Linked DNA regions of Homo sapiens: regions 2 and 3 are each linked to region 1. Evidence: promoter capture Hi-C in 16 types of primary human blood cells and fetal thymus (Javierre and others, 2016). All regions are on one chromosome and are shown on one strand. The core of a region is centred on a gene start or on the middle of the fragment in contact, and the rest is flanking DNA. Distances in the headings are between cores, read along the strand shown.

Evidence for each region. The method cuts DNA at HindIII sites, captures the fragments that hold promoters and counts their contacts. A CHiCAGO score of 5 or more calls a contact.
Region 2: a fragment that was not itself captured here is called in contact with the fragment with the promoter of DHX57 in region 1 in 1 of 17 cell types (M2 macrophages); the score reaches 5.0 in M2 macrophages.
Region 3: a fragment that was not itself captured here is called in contact with the fragment with the promoter of DHX57 in region 1 in 1 of 17 cell types (M2 macrophages); the score reaches 7.1 in M2 macrophages.

The regions. Positions count from the first base shown.
Region 1 is chr2:38,873,477-38,878,216 of GRCh38, reverse strand. It overlaps DHX57 (DExH-box helicase 57), which reads left to right and starts at 2,283. Exons shown (of 24, transcript NM_198963.3): 1 at 2,283-2,430. It overlaps MORN2 (MORN repeat containing 2), which reads right to left and starts at 2,241. Exons shown (of 5, transcript NM_001145450.3): 1 at 2,107-2,241. The coding sequence starts at 2,164. RefSeq lists an enhancer at 2,090-3,074. The HindIII fragment of the contact is 7,829 bases long and covers 1-4,464 here.
Region 2 is chr2:39,035,331-39,040,070 of GRCh38, reverse strand. SOS1 (SOS Ras/Rac guanine nucleotide exchange factor 1) reads left to right here. Exons shown (of 23, transcript NM_005633.4): 7 at 4,571-4,681. Among named protein-coding and RNA genes, the nearest start is that of SOS1, 83 kb to the left of the region's middle. The HindIII fragment of the contact is 6,152 bases long and covers 415-4,740 here.
Region 3 is chr2:39,017,796-39,022,535 of GRCh38, reverse strand. The region is part of intron 10 of SOS1 (SOS Ras/Rac guanine nucleotide exchange factor 1); the gene reads left to right. Among named protein-coding and RNA genes, the nearest start is that of SOS1, 100 kb to the left of the region's middle. The HindIII fragment of the contact is 1,191 bases long and covers 1,665-2,855 here.

The DNA of each region.
Region 1 (4,740 bases), core at 1,034-3,533:
GATTCTAAAAAAAAATGGCACTATGTCTTTAAAATTCCGAGACAAAATTATTTTCAACCTAATATTCTACATCCAACGAAACTATCAATCTAAAATCATGGAAACTGGCAGGCACGCTGGTAGGATGAATTACTGGCTCATGCCTGGAATCCCAGCACTTCGGGAGGCTGAGGAGGGTGGGTTGCTTGAGCCTAGGAGTTCGAGACCAGCCTGGGCAACATGGTGAAACCCATTCTCCACAAAAAATACAAGAATTAGCTGGGTGTGGTGTTGCATGCTTGTTGTCCATGCTACTTGGGGGCTGAGGTGGGAGGATCGCTTGAGCCCAGGAAGTGAAGGCTGCAGTGAGTCCGATCACACCCTGCCCTCCAGCCTGGGTGAGACAGCAAGACTCTGTCTTAAAAAAATAATAAAATAAAAAAAATTAAGTTTTAAAAATAGAATCTGGTGGCTCATGCCTGTAATCCCAACGCTTTGGGTGGGTGAGGTGGGAGGACTGCTTGAGCCCAGGAGTTTGAGACCAGCCTGGGCAACATAGTGAGATTCCATCTACACCAAAATTAAAAACTCAAAAAGAAAAAAAAAGAATCTGTAACTAAAACTCAGGTAATATCAATATGGAAATGGTGTGGAGGATAGAGAGCAATCTTGCTAGAATTCTGATCTCGTTTAGGGGTTAAATATAGACACTAATTAACACTAAATCTTAGAAAAATCTGAATTTAGTTATGTTTGCTTATTTTTTCCCCATAATTTCTAAGATTTGGTTGTGGATAAAGGGTGAAGTATGGTGGTATACAGAAATTGCCATGTGTGCTCATTAATTAGTTATTTACATGTCTGCAAGATGTGAAATTCCAAGAGAGCAGGGACACAGAGCTACTTTCTTTCTTTTTTATTTTTTAATTTAATTTAATTTAATTTAATTTATTTATTTATTTATTTATTTTTGAGACGGAGTCTCGCTCTGTCGCCCAGGCTGGAGTGCAGTGGCTTGATCTCGTCTCACTGCAACCTCCGCCTCCCGGGTTCACGCCATTCTCCTGCCTCAGCCTCCCAAGTAGCTGGAACTACAGGCGTCAGAGCTACTTTCTAAGTGTTTAACTAATGATAACTAACTAGATTACCAGATCTGCTTGTAGTTTCCCACAGATGCCATGCCGTACTCTGGGTGGAACACCCTTCTCTTCTTTACCTGGTTAACTGCTATTCATCCTCAAGAGTTGGCAAAATAGAGTGTAGTAGTTAGGGGTTCATGCTCTGGCATCGGACTACCTACCTTTGCATCCAGACTCCACCATTTTCTCTGACCTTGGACAAATAATTATCTTATGCCTCAGTTTCCTCATCCTTAGATGGGGCAAATCAAGTAAATGAGCTAATCTAGTTAAAGCACTTAGCCCAGTGTCTAAACTCTGTAAATATTAGCTATTGTATTCTTGTAGCCCCAGCTCAGGTATGAGCTCTCCCACAAAGCCTTTCTTCTCATTACTTGTCAACCTCAGACTCCTTCAGGAACCCCCACGGCACTCTGGGCCTATTCCTACTGTAGTACTTAAGGTTCTATTAAAACCATGCTTTTGTATCGGGATCCCCTATCCCACCCAGTTCCTCCAGGACACGGATGGCAGATTAGTCAAATCTCTTCTCACCCCACTGTCCGACTCCGTGTTTAGTACTAATAGTAACAGAACGTCTAGTGAATGAAGGGCACTTCGGAAGGAATCGTTAAGTGCCTATGAAGCAGAGCATTAAACGTAATCATATCAGAAACTGGACTGTTTTCAATTGCCGCTAAAATGTTCTACATTCGAAACTTGGGAACGTCAGAGCTAGAGGGAACCTCACAGAGACCACCCGGCACCATAGCGGAAACTGAGGCCCAGGGAGGTTGGCACGCGCCTCGGGTGTCTCAACAGCGAATTAACAACAGAATCAGAGCTAGATTCCCAGACCAGGGGTTCCCCCGTGCCCCTCGGCTAGACGGTCAGGAAATATATCACACCCCCACAGGAGTTACCGGGAGCCAAGCAGGTTCTGACTCCACGCTAGTTCGACTTAAAGGAGCTCTTCTCTGCCCGGGTCGTTAGGAGGAGGGACACTCACTTGGCCGAGAGGTGTTAGAGAGATCTTCCAAACTCTGCGACTCCCCCTGGGCGGCCAGCTCTGCGGCCGGGAGAGAACTAGGCGCTAGGACAGCTCCAGGTGCGACTTGGTTGCTGGGGCGACCGGGCACCTCTCACCCGGAAGCGAATACGCGAGGGGCTGTAGCTGAGCCAATCAGAAGGCGCCGGGACTGTGCCGCTGCAGCTGGGCCACCGCAGGGCTGCTCCAAGTGAGAATCGTGAGGGTGGCCAAGTCCAGTTTGGACCTCTGACCCTTGGGCAGCACCTCCCGACAGCCGGCTCGGGACCCAACTCTGCGAGCCAGGTACGTCTTCCACTTCTGCGGACAAGTGATGCGCGTTGTGCGCACGGTGTGCGCGTCACCCTGTTTGTCAGTGTGTCTGCCGCCTCCTGCTCCAGGAGTGGTCGGGATCTGACGAGCATCGCGGCCCAGTGTGTTTCATCCAGTCTGCCTGGGGCCGGTGAATCTGGACCAGCAGGATCCCAGGCCCTGATACCGAACCAAGGCGGGCTCTGCCGCTGAGGTTGTCCACGCTCAAACTGCAGGTTGGGGCCGGGGGGGGCGGGGCGTGAAATTCAGTCTTGGAGCAGGCTAAGGGGTTGATTGAAGGGATCAGGCTCCGTTCTCTGACTCCGTCTGTGTGGCTTTTTTGGGGAGAAGGGTGGGGACGATGTGAGTTCGAAAAAGGATACGAGATCTGGATATCTGGATGGAGCTGGATATATTGTGATCAGTCAGAGATCTGCCTGGGAGGAGAGTAGTGTGTAGTCACTTTTCAGTGCCTTGGCTATCAAACAAAGAATACTCTTACAGCCAAACTTAGGTCCCTGTATCCATGGTGAAGAAAGATAGTTGGAGTCTTCCCGGGCTAGATGGAATAGATAGTGGAATCTAACCACGTGGATTATACAACCTAATTCCTATTCCCTTGAAAACTCTGGGAGAGTGGTATTGGACACCATTACAGTCAGTAAATCTTCGTTTAAAATGTTAAGCGCATATCTCAGATCTAGTTGTAAAAGTAACATTTTCTGGGTTGGTGTGAGACAACTTGTTTTGATTCAGCGTAAGTATCCTCTTGCTTTTTCCTAATGTTTCTCAGTACACAAATTTACCTGGGCTGCATGGTTTTTGAGATGAAGTTCTAATCTAACTGATTTGTTATTTCATTTCCCTAAATTTTAGAAATAATAGGTAATTATTGGTGCACAACCTTACAGAATTCAGTTTGACCTGTTATTTTTCTTGCCTGTTAAGATTTTAATGACTCTACATTTTTGTGAGTAAAGTTGACGTTTGAACAACATGGGTATGAACTACCCGGCTCCACTTACAGGTGGATTTTTCCCAACCCAACACAGATTGAAAATACAGTATTTCAGGTCGGGCGCGGTGGCTCACGCCTGTAATCCCAGCACTGTGGGAGGCCGAGGCGGGCGGATCACGAGGTCAGGAGATCGAGACCATCCTGGCTAACACGGTGAAACCCTGTCTCTACTAAAAATACAAAAAATTAGCCGGGCATGGTGGCGGGTGCCTGTAGTCCCAGCTACTCAGGAGGCTGAGGCAGGAGAATGGCGTGAACCCGGGAGGTGGAGGTTGCAGTGAGCTGAGACTGCGCCAGTGCACTCCAGCCTGGGCGACAGAGTGAGACTCTGTCTCAAAAAAAAAAAAAAAAAAAAAAAAAATACAGTATTTCAACTAGGCACAGTGGCTCATGCCGGTAATCTCAGCACTTTGGGAGGCCAAGGTGAGACGATTGCTTGAGCTCAGGAGTACGAGACCAGCTTGGGCAGCAAAGCGAAACCTCATTTCTACTAAAAAATGTTTAAAGTAGCTGGGTGTGGTGGTGCACCTGTGGTCCCAGCTATTCAGGAGGCTGAGGCAGGAGGATTGCTTGAGCCTAGGAGATCGAGGCTGCAGTAAGCTATGATCGTACCACTGCACTGCAGCCTGGGTGATAGAGCAAGATCCAGTCTCAAAAAAAAAGAAAGAAAGAAAAAAGAAAAGACAGTATTCCTGGAATGCAAAACCCACATACAGAGGGCCAACTTTTCCTCTATGCAGGTTCTACAGGGCTGACTGGAGAACTTGAGTATCCGTGGATTTTGGTATACATGGGGGTTCTGGAACCAATCCCCTGTGTATACCGAGGGATGACTATTTCATGGCTCATTCTGTCAATTTCTTCCGGATGTCCTTTAAAATCTCAAAGAGGCCTTACCCAACCACTCTATCTAAAATAACTGCCTCGGGGGTTTTTTTTCCTTGATAGCACTTAAGTTATAATATATATCTATTTGTTTAATGTCTGTGTTACCCTCTAGAAGGTAAGCTTCATGAAGCAGAAATTTTGTCTTTTTTGCTGTTATATCCCCAGGATCTGGCACATAATAAGTGCTCAATAAATATTTGTGGAATGAATAAATAGATGAACAAATCTCCATTCCCACATAAGTCATTTTTTCAACCTTCAATCATTCATTCCACAAATAGATACTGAATTCCTACCATATGCTAGACACTGTGTTAAGGGTACAGTGGTAATCAAAATAGACATAGTCTTGTTTTCAAAGAGCTTTCTGGGAGTAGAAAGGAGAGACAAACTTAAGA
Region 2 (4,740 bases), core at 2,241-4,740, 160 kb before region 1:
CACTGCACTCCAGCCTGGGCGACAGAGCAAGACTCCATCTCAAAAAAATAAAAAATAAAAAAATAAAAGGGGGTGTTGAAACATGCTACAACATGGATGAACTTTGAAAATGTTATGCTGAACACAAGAAGCCAGTCACAAAAGACTACATATTGTATGATTCCATTTACATGTAATATCCAGAATAGGCAAATCCATGGAGACAAAAAGTAGATTTATGGTTGCCTAGGGCTGAGGGGTTTAGGGGATTGGGAGGTAATAGCTGAAGAGTGTGTGATTTCTTTGAGGGGGTGATAAAAATATTCCAAAATAGATTATGATGGTAGTTGCACAATTCTGTTAAACTAAAAATAATCTCATTTTGCCCATTAAATGGGTGAAGTGAATGTATTAGAATTTTATCTCAATAAAGCTTTTCTAAAAACTATAAATTAAAATGTAAAGTCAAGCTAATAAAAATGGTCAAAAGCTATTAATAAACAATTCTCAGAAGAGAAGATACAAATAAATGGCGCACAACCATATAAGTAGATTCTCAACCTTACTAGTAATCAGGGAAATACATATAAAAATAACACTGGCATAGTCTCACAACATCAGGCTAACAAATTTTAAGTCTGATAGTATCAAATGTTGACAAGGAAGTGGACAACTGGGAAAAATCACTGCTGCTAAGTATATAAATCGATATAATCACTTTGGAAAGCAACTTCCCCTTCTAGTTTACATGCTCTAAAAAATATTCATGCATATGTGCACACTAAGTTATACAGGCATACCTCAGAGATATCGTGGCTTAGGTTTCAGACTACTGCAATAAAGTGAATGTCACAATAAAGCAAGTCACTATTTTTTTGGCTTACAGTGCATATAAAAGTTATGTTTACACTATCCTGTGGTCTAGTAAGCATGCAGTAGCATTATGTCTAAAACAACATATATACCTAGATTTAGAAATACAGCTAAGAAAATGCTAATAATCCTCTCAGCCTTCAGTGAGTCATAATCTTTTTGCTGGTGAAGGGTCTTGCCTTGATGTTGATGGCTGCTGAAGGTTGGGGTGACTGGCAGTTTAAATAATAAGCAACAATGGGGTTTGACACAACTGTTCGCTCTTTCTTTTATGAAAGATTTCTGTGTAGCTGGTGATGTTGTTTGATAGCACTTTACCCACAGTAGAAATTCTTTCAGTATTGGAGTCAATCCTCTCAAACTCTGCCACCGTTTTATCAACTAAGTTGATGTAATATTCTAAGTCCTTTGTTGTCATAAAAATGTTCATAGTATTTTCACCAGGAGTAGGTTCCATCTCAAGAAACGACTTTTTTTTTTTTTTTTGAGACGGAGTCTCATTTTGTTGCCAGGCTGGAGTGCAGTGGTGTGATCTCGGCTCACTGCAACCTCTGCCTCCCAGGTTCTAGCGATTCTCCTGCCTCAGCCTCCCGAGTAGCTAGGACTACAGGTGTGTGCCACCATGCCCAGCTAATTTTTGTATTTTTAGTAGAGAGAGGGTTTCACCATGTTGGCCAGGATGGTCTCGATCTCTTGATCTCGTGATCTGCCTGCCTTGGCCTCCCAAAGTGCTGGGATTACAGGCGTGAGCCACCGCGCCCAGCCAAGAAACCACTTTCTTTGCTCATCCATAAGAAGCAAATTCTCCATTCAAGTTTTATCATAAACTTGCAGCAATTCAAGTCACATCATCAGGCTCCACTTCTAATCCTATTTCTCTTTCTATTTCCACCACATCTGCAGTTACTTCCTCCAACTAAAGTCTTGAACTTTTCAAAGCCATCCCTGAGAGTTGGAATCAACTTCTTCCAAACTCCTGTTAATGTGGATATTTTGACCTTTCCCATAAATAACAAATGTTCTTACTGGCATCTAGAATGGTGAATCCTTTCCAGAGGGTTTTCAGTTGATTTTATCCAGCTGCAGCAGAGGAATCACTATCTATGTCAGTTACAGCCTTACAGAACATATTTGTGAAATAATAAAACTTGAAGGTCAAAATTATTCCTTGATCCATGGGCTGCAGAATGGATGTTGTGTTAAGAGACTTGAAAACAACATTAATCTCCTTGTATATCTCCATCAGAGCTCTTAGGTGTCTAGGTGCAATGTCAATATTTTGAAAGAAATTTTTTTTTTTCTGAGCTGTTGGTCTCAATAGTGGGCTTAAAGTATTCAGTAAACCATGTTGTAAACAGTTGTACTATCATCCAGGCTTTGCTGTTGCATTTATAGGGCACACCCAGAGTAGATTTAGCACAATCCTTAAGGGCCCTAGGATTTTCAGAATGGTAAGTGAACACTGGCTCAATAGTAATGGTGAAGAAGTTTGAAATATTTCGACACAGAGACAAAATTAGCACATGCTGTTGGAAAAATGGGGCCAAAAGACTTGCTTCACACAGGGTTGCCACAAATCTTCAACTTGTTAAAAAAAAAAAAGGCAATATATGCAAAGCACAATAAAGTGAAGCACCATAAAGTGAAGTGTACCTGCATACCAAGTGCAAATTACAGAATTTTTTTTTATAATTGTGAAAAACAAGAAACAGTTATCTATCAGTGGAGAATGGATTAGAGAAAACTGATATATTCATACAGTAGAATATTATAGTTTTAAAATAAACTGAAAGGAACTGTATGAATCAAAATAGATGAATCTTGAAAAATTTTTGAGTATAAAAGGCAACTTATAGATGAATGTATACATTATGATATTTGGCATATGATCATTTCTGAATTGGAAGAGACCTAAGCTATAAGCATCTCTTCACATTTTTAGTCTTCTCTTCCGTCCACTGTATTCATGCCTGACTCCATCCTCTTGTTGTTTTTGAAACTTTACTATCAATTTCTGTAAAACGTAATAGACTCCAATTTCTGGTGTTATATTATGATAGCAATTTTTAGTTGAGAAGAAAGTTGAAGGAGTTAAAAATTGGGAAGTCAACTAAGAGCCAGCTCAAGGAATCCAGTATGACTTGGAAGTTTACATGCCATATTGCAAAATGCAACAACCAGAACTCACGTCTTCTGATTTCTGATCTGGTGGTATTACTGTTCAATCATTTCTTAAAAAGCAATCTGAGGCCAGGCGCAGTGGCTCACACCTGTAATCCCAGCACTTTGGGAGGCTGAGGCAGGAGGATCACTTGAGTCCAGCAGATCAAGACCAGCCTGGTCAGGCCGGGCGCGGTGGCTCACACCTGTAATCCTAGCACTTTGGGAGGCCGAGGCGGGCGGATCACGAGGTCAGGAGATAGAGACCATCCTGGCTTACACGGTGAAACCCTGTCTCTACTAAAAATACAAAAAAAAATAGCCGGGCGTGGTGGCGGATGCCTGTAATCCCAGCTACTCGGGAGGCTGAGGCAGGAGAATGGCGTGAACTTGGGAGGCGGAGCTTGCAGTGAGCCGAGATCGCGCCACTGCACTCCAGCCTGGCCGACAGAGGGAGACTCCGTCCCAAAAAGAAAAAACAAAAAACGACCAGGGTGGTCAACATGGCAGAAACCCTGTCCCTACAAAATACACAAAAAATGTAACCAGGCGCGGTGGTGTGCGCCTGTGGTCCCAGATACTCAGGAGACTGAGGTGGGAGGATTGTTTGAGCCCAGGGGGCAGAGGTTGTAGTGAGCCAAGATTGCACTACGGCACTCTAGCCTGGGTGACAGAGTAAGACCAAGATCCTGTTTCAAAAAAAAAGCAATCTGAAAAATAACATTAAGGGTGATTTAATTCATAACAACCTTTCGTTGTTTCATTCCCTTCTGCCTTTTTCTACTATGCTCCTCCACTAGATGTCCTATTCCTCTTGCTAGAATTACCCTTTATGGAAATGAGCTCATGCTAGAATCTAGAGCACCATTTTCATAATAGTTTTATACAAGATAGAAGAGTAGCGACTCTATTTCTCCTGCTAAAATCAAGATACCTACTCTCTTTTTCCCCAGAAATCTTCAAAACCAGTAGATTCTGGTCTTTTTAACTGAGCCATTAGAATTTAGTTTATTGATTGGTGATATTAATGATGGCAAAATTTTGGGCAGTTCGGATTTTGTTTAATTGTTTTGTGAAATTATCACAATGAATTTTAGATGACATGAACTGTTACTTCTGGTTTATAGAATACGAAAGTACATGTCCACCACTGAGAACTATAAAAACATGTCTGGCTTCAGTATTCTAAATGTTTATACCTTACCTAGTTGTACATATCTATATTCTTTGTTGTTGTCAAGTTAAGATTTGTTTTCTAGAACCAAAAGTCTGCCCACTCTTATGGCCATGTTTGTTGATAATACTCTACTGGAAACCTTTAATGAGAGCTGTTATAACATATAAGGATTTTATTATTCATCAGAAAGAACTGATTTACTCTCTTACTTGAGAATATTGGGATCTCTTCTATTAAAATTATAATTAGTAGTCATATAATTTTTGCTTAGAGACTTTCAAAGACATACATAATTGTGCTCGCATAGTCGTGCCCCATAATTAAATCTTTCTGTGTTTGTAATGGTAAATTATTTATGTTTTACCTTCTTTATTTTCTAAGGAACTGGCATTTGATCCATATGAATCGTATGCTCGAGATATTTTGCGACCTGGTTTTCATGATCGTTTCCTTAGTCAGTTATCAAAGCCTGGGGCAGCACTTTATTTGCAGGTATAGTAATTTTTAAATGAAGATGTACAATGTCTGAAAAGTAAACTTAAAAAAAAAAT
Region 3 (4,740 bases), core at 1,011-3,510, 140 kb before region 1:
TCCTGCTTCAAACTGATTTTCTTTCCTGCATGGGTTTATTGTGCCTAAAATAGAAAAGAAACTAACAACCAAAGACCTCTTTTCTTTGACTAAAAATACCCCACTTTATATTTCTTTGGAATGTTTTACTTTTTCTACTACACTTAAATACTTTTTTTTAACCTTACCATCAGTTATAGATGAGAAAATGAGGTCACTTGGCTAAATTTATCCAGTTAGAAAGTGACAGAAACAAGACTAAAGTTAGTAGTAAATCATCATTATTGGGATCTAAAAAGTTTTTTACTCCTTTATCTTTTTTTTCTTTCTTCTTTTTCCATTTCTGAGATTATAAATAAAAATTTTAATATAACAAAATTGTGCTGGTAGTACAAATATACACGGCATTGCTTTCTCTCAGTTTCCACTCCTAAACCTGATTATTTAATAATAAATGTTGCAATCCTGGAAGCCAAGGATTCCAGTTTTATTATAATTTTTCACCTAGAAATGTCTATAGTCAGTGTATTTATTTTACTGACCCAAAAATTTAAAAAATCATAGGAAATGTAAATAGGCTGCCTAGATTTTACATGAAAAACAAATAGGTTATTGTCATTTTTTTCCATATAAAGCTGTTTTTTGAGAGGTACAATTTTTCGGTAGTATGACCTGCCGATTTAGTTGTGCTTCACCAACCTTTTCTATGTTCTTTATGATCTAGACTACAACTATAAAAATGTTTTTTATTCAGTTACCCAAAATTTGTGATTGCAAAATACTTCTTTTCTGCTTAAGAGATTTTTAAGGCTATAAAAGTTCAAATTGCCCTTCTTGCCACATTTTCCTGGTTTTTAAGTCCCCTTAGAGGACTCATAGAATTTTTATAACATGAGCATTCTAAACTTTATCATTTCATCCTAAGTACTTTTGTTTGGGGTTCCTAGACTCATTTGGAGTAAAATTAATCTTTAGATTTTTCTCTGTGTTTGTAAGAAAGAAGTTTTAATTTTTTTTTTTTTTTTTTTTTTCCTGTAGAGCATTGTAAGAAGACTTACTACTAGTGTTTACTGTCACAAGTCAGTGATACTTGGGCAGGAAAACATTTTCAAATTACAAAATTTTTAATTGTTTCTGTAAGACTTGATTGAGTGATAGAAGTTTTCTCTAAATTGCTATATTTCACAAAGTTAATTTATGATTATTAATAAGCAGCTGAAGAATGGTTACAACTATTGTCTGGGGAACTGTCCCTTTTATTTATTTTTTTAAATGAGGACACTTTAAAGCAAAATTAACTGGAACAAGCTGATACTTGTTTTGTAGTCCTGAAAGTCTTCTTTCCTTAATGTGTACAATGTTAGGTAAAGTCCGTGGACATGGTACTTTTGTAATGATGTTTTATTAGTTATTTCTGTCTGATACTTCTTTTCTATATCAATTTTTAGCTTTGGTATAGAGTAATATTTTGAGTGCTTTTACTTATAATGAATATAAAACACTTAAATTTCAAGATTTATAGAACTTTGCCAAAGTTAAGTGTATTGAAAATTTAAGTTGATGAGATTATTTTACTTAAAAAAAATGTTTTTAAAAAATTCCTTCCAATAATTTTTTGAGAAATAAAAGGCCAGTGTTGTGGCTAAGTTTTTTGATATTTTTCTTTTCTGTCTTCTTTTGAAGCTTAACTGAATATTTTAATTTATGTCATAAATATATTACTGGTGAAACTGGAGTCTACAAGCAGCTTTCGTGAGTTGTGGTTTACAGTACACACACATTAGTGTTAACTGTTAGCTTATTTGGGCTATTCTGTAAGGTCTGTTACTGAAGTTATTACTGGCAACATAGAATGGTTTTTAATAGACCATCTGTGAACTTGTAAAACTGAAATGGACTTTTAAGGCCTCACTACAATGGTAACAGATCAAGTTACCATTTGTTTTTAAGAACTACTGGTCTGCTCTTCTCCTCTCATCTTTCTTCAGCCTCCCCAAAGAGAAAAGGGATTTGTGATTTGGTTAGTAGGTATGTTTATTGGAGAACATGCAGTACAGGTTGTGGCTTACACTGAAACAAAGCTAACATTTAACTTACACATTTTTATTTTATTATATAGAATTGTAATAAAAGACATTGGATATAATACATGAGAAAATTTAATGAATACTATAAGACACGACTTACAGACATCTTTTAGATTATTATAGTTTGGTTAGACATTGTCATAAAAACAGAAGAGAAACTGGTTTAACCTTACTTTATTCAGACTTCACTGTGGTGTCAGCCAACTTTATCCCTCAAATATTTTAACAGTAATGTACAAAATGGAGCTATAGATCTCTAATGCTAGAAGAGATGCCCAAGCCTTCACTTTGTAGACAAATCCCAAGGCCCCTGAAGATTATATGATTTCCCAGAAGTTCTATTACGAGTTAATTCCAGAACAAGTCAAGAATTAGGTTTCTTGACTCTAAATAGAGTATATTTTCTACCATGTTACATTGACTCATATAAGGTGATTGTTTTCATGAATAGAATATGTTGTAATTTTTTAATTATATGTGTTAATAATTAAGTAAAAGGATCTGGTACAGATGTGAGCTCAAAAAAAATAAATAAATTACTTCCTTGGTTTGAACTGCCAATAATATAAATGGCTTGTTCATTTCTGGGCAAACGTGCGTACTATGAAGATATTGTCAGTAATTTTTTTTTCTTGAAATAGGATATAGGTAAGCTCTGACTATAGATACACTTCCATTGGAATGCATAGATTTTTTATGTATAGATACTGGTCATTATTATTATTTTTATTTTTTTACAAAACCCAATTATTAGTCTATTGATGTAGTTTGCTCACTAAAGGGAAAGCTTTGTGGAAAGAAAAATTTAAATTTAGGTGAATTAGAAAGTGGTTAACTTGCTTAAAAGATTGCAACAGGGTCTTAGGTGGAATCTAATTTATAGCTTGTCTCTCAGATTCGGTGTTTCTGGATGTATCATAATTTGCTGACTATATCAGAACTTTGGGGTTTGTCCCAAAAACTAGGGGAAAAATTATCCAATTGGATGGATCATTCTAAATCTGGCAATGGTATGAAGAGACTATTTCCTTATCCTAAGTAAGAAAGCACAAAGCAATATGCACAAATAAAAAGTTGAGAGTAGGAATTTCACGTCTGTTACAGAGTTGTTGTAGGCAACAAAGTACAAGTTAATGAGACCTAAAACAACACGAGTAGATAAATGGTAGGTGGTGCTGTGTCCAGTTTGGTAGTCTATTTTAGAAAAATGAGATGACCCTGAAGTAAGGATAATAATTCAGAATTGACATTTTATGGGAAATAAAAGCTTTGCATATTGAAGTGAGGGAAAAGGTGTTTCCCTTGCCTGGGAATTTCTCTTTTCCAGAAGATGGTATTGAAAAAACTTAAGCCAGAAGATCGTTTTCTTTAAAGTATTTACTGCTATTTTATACCTTCATAGGGAAAAGCCTCAAAAACCTGAATTAGATTTATTTTGAGTTTGTGTCCTATATAAGCTCAGTTTCGGTGTTTTAACTTATTTAAATCTTTTGAACAATTTTTCATCTATAGGGCAGCGCTGTTCTATTTTTATACTCTCTGATTTTTTAAAAAAGTGTTTGTGCGTCAGCATAGCGTCTGTTTCCTTTTTTAAGGAATTCAAGACTGATTGTTTATAAATCCTTGTTGAGGAGCTTATTGTTTCTTGTAGCTTTTTAAATGGCTGCATTAAAGGGAGAATTATCACATGAACAGACATCCTGATTATAACAGTGTTTTACTGTGGTGGTTGGGGGTGGGGTGGTCTTTACATAAATAACTTTTTTATGTAATAAATACAAATTTCATTGACCTTGTCAAATAAAATGTCATGTCAATCAAAATAGGCACATAAGGAAAAAGGATTGGATTATCACTTCCAATCTATATTCTGAACACTAATGTAGGTATACTCTGAGTTCCTAAAATTTTGAAGTATTGTGCAGTAAAATATCAAATAATGGTTTTATAGTGAGGAAAACAGAGACAGAAGGTCAGCAGAAAAAAATAACTACAGCTTCTGTTTGAAATAACCTGGTTATTTCTGTTTGAAAATAACCTAGCTGTTTTGATTGGGGGAAGCAGAGCAACTAGTGAACATGGTGGAAACCTTAGCGTAGGGATTTGAGAGTCAAGTAGCAAAGTAATGTTATCTCTAATGATGAGGGGGAAAAACTGTAGAAAAAGTTTTGGTTGTTGACCATATTGAAATTCATCAGGAGATCATGTTTGAGAAAGAATTTTGTGGAATTATCTCCACAAGTAAGTGATAAACAGAAAGGAGAATATAAAAATGGGCTATTTTTAATTTTTTTCTAGGATTATATGTTTTTGCTTATGTTATAAAGCCAAACCCAGACTGGCTTTTGTATTTTTATGTGTTTACCTTTCATCTCTCTCTGCAACATGGTTTTAGAATATGGGTAGATAACTGCTGCTCCACAACTAACAACGGCAGTATAAAACTTAGCTTTTACCATTGCCTAATCAATGGAACTAGGTATTCTGTTTTCTTACAGAATTATATAACCTGTCCTTATTGATGGGCATTTGTTTATATTATCTTAGCTCTTTACATCATCAGTAAGATAAACGTCTCCAGTGGTTAGCGACATGGTGTGTGTTACAGTCATTGAAATGGAGAAACCAATCCAATAGAAATAAAAATAATGTCTGGAATTTTTATGCTTTTCTG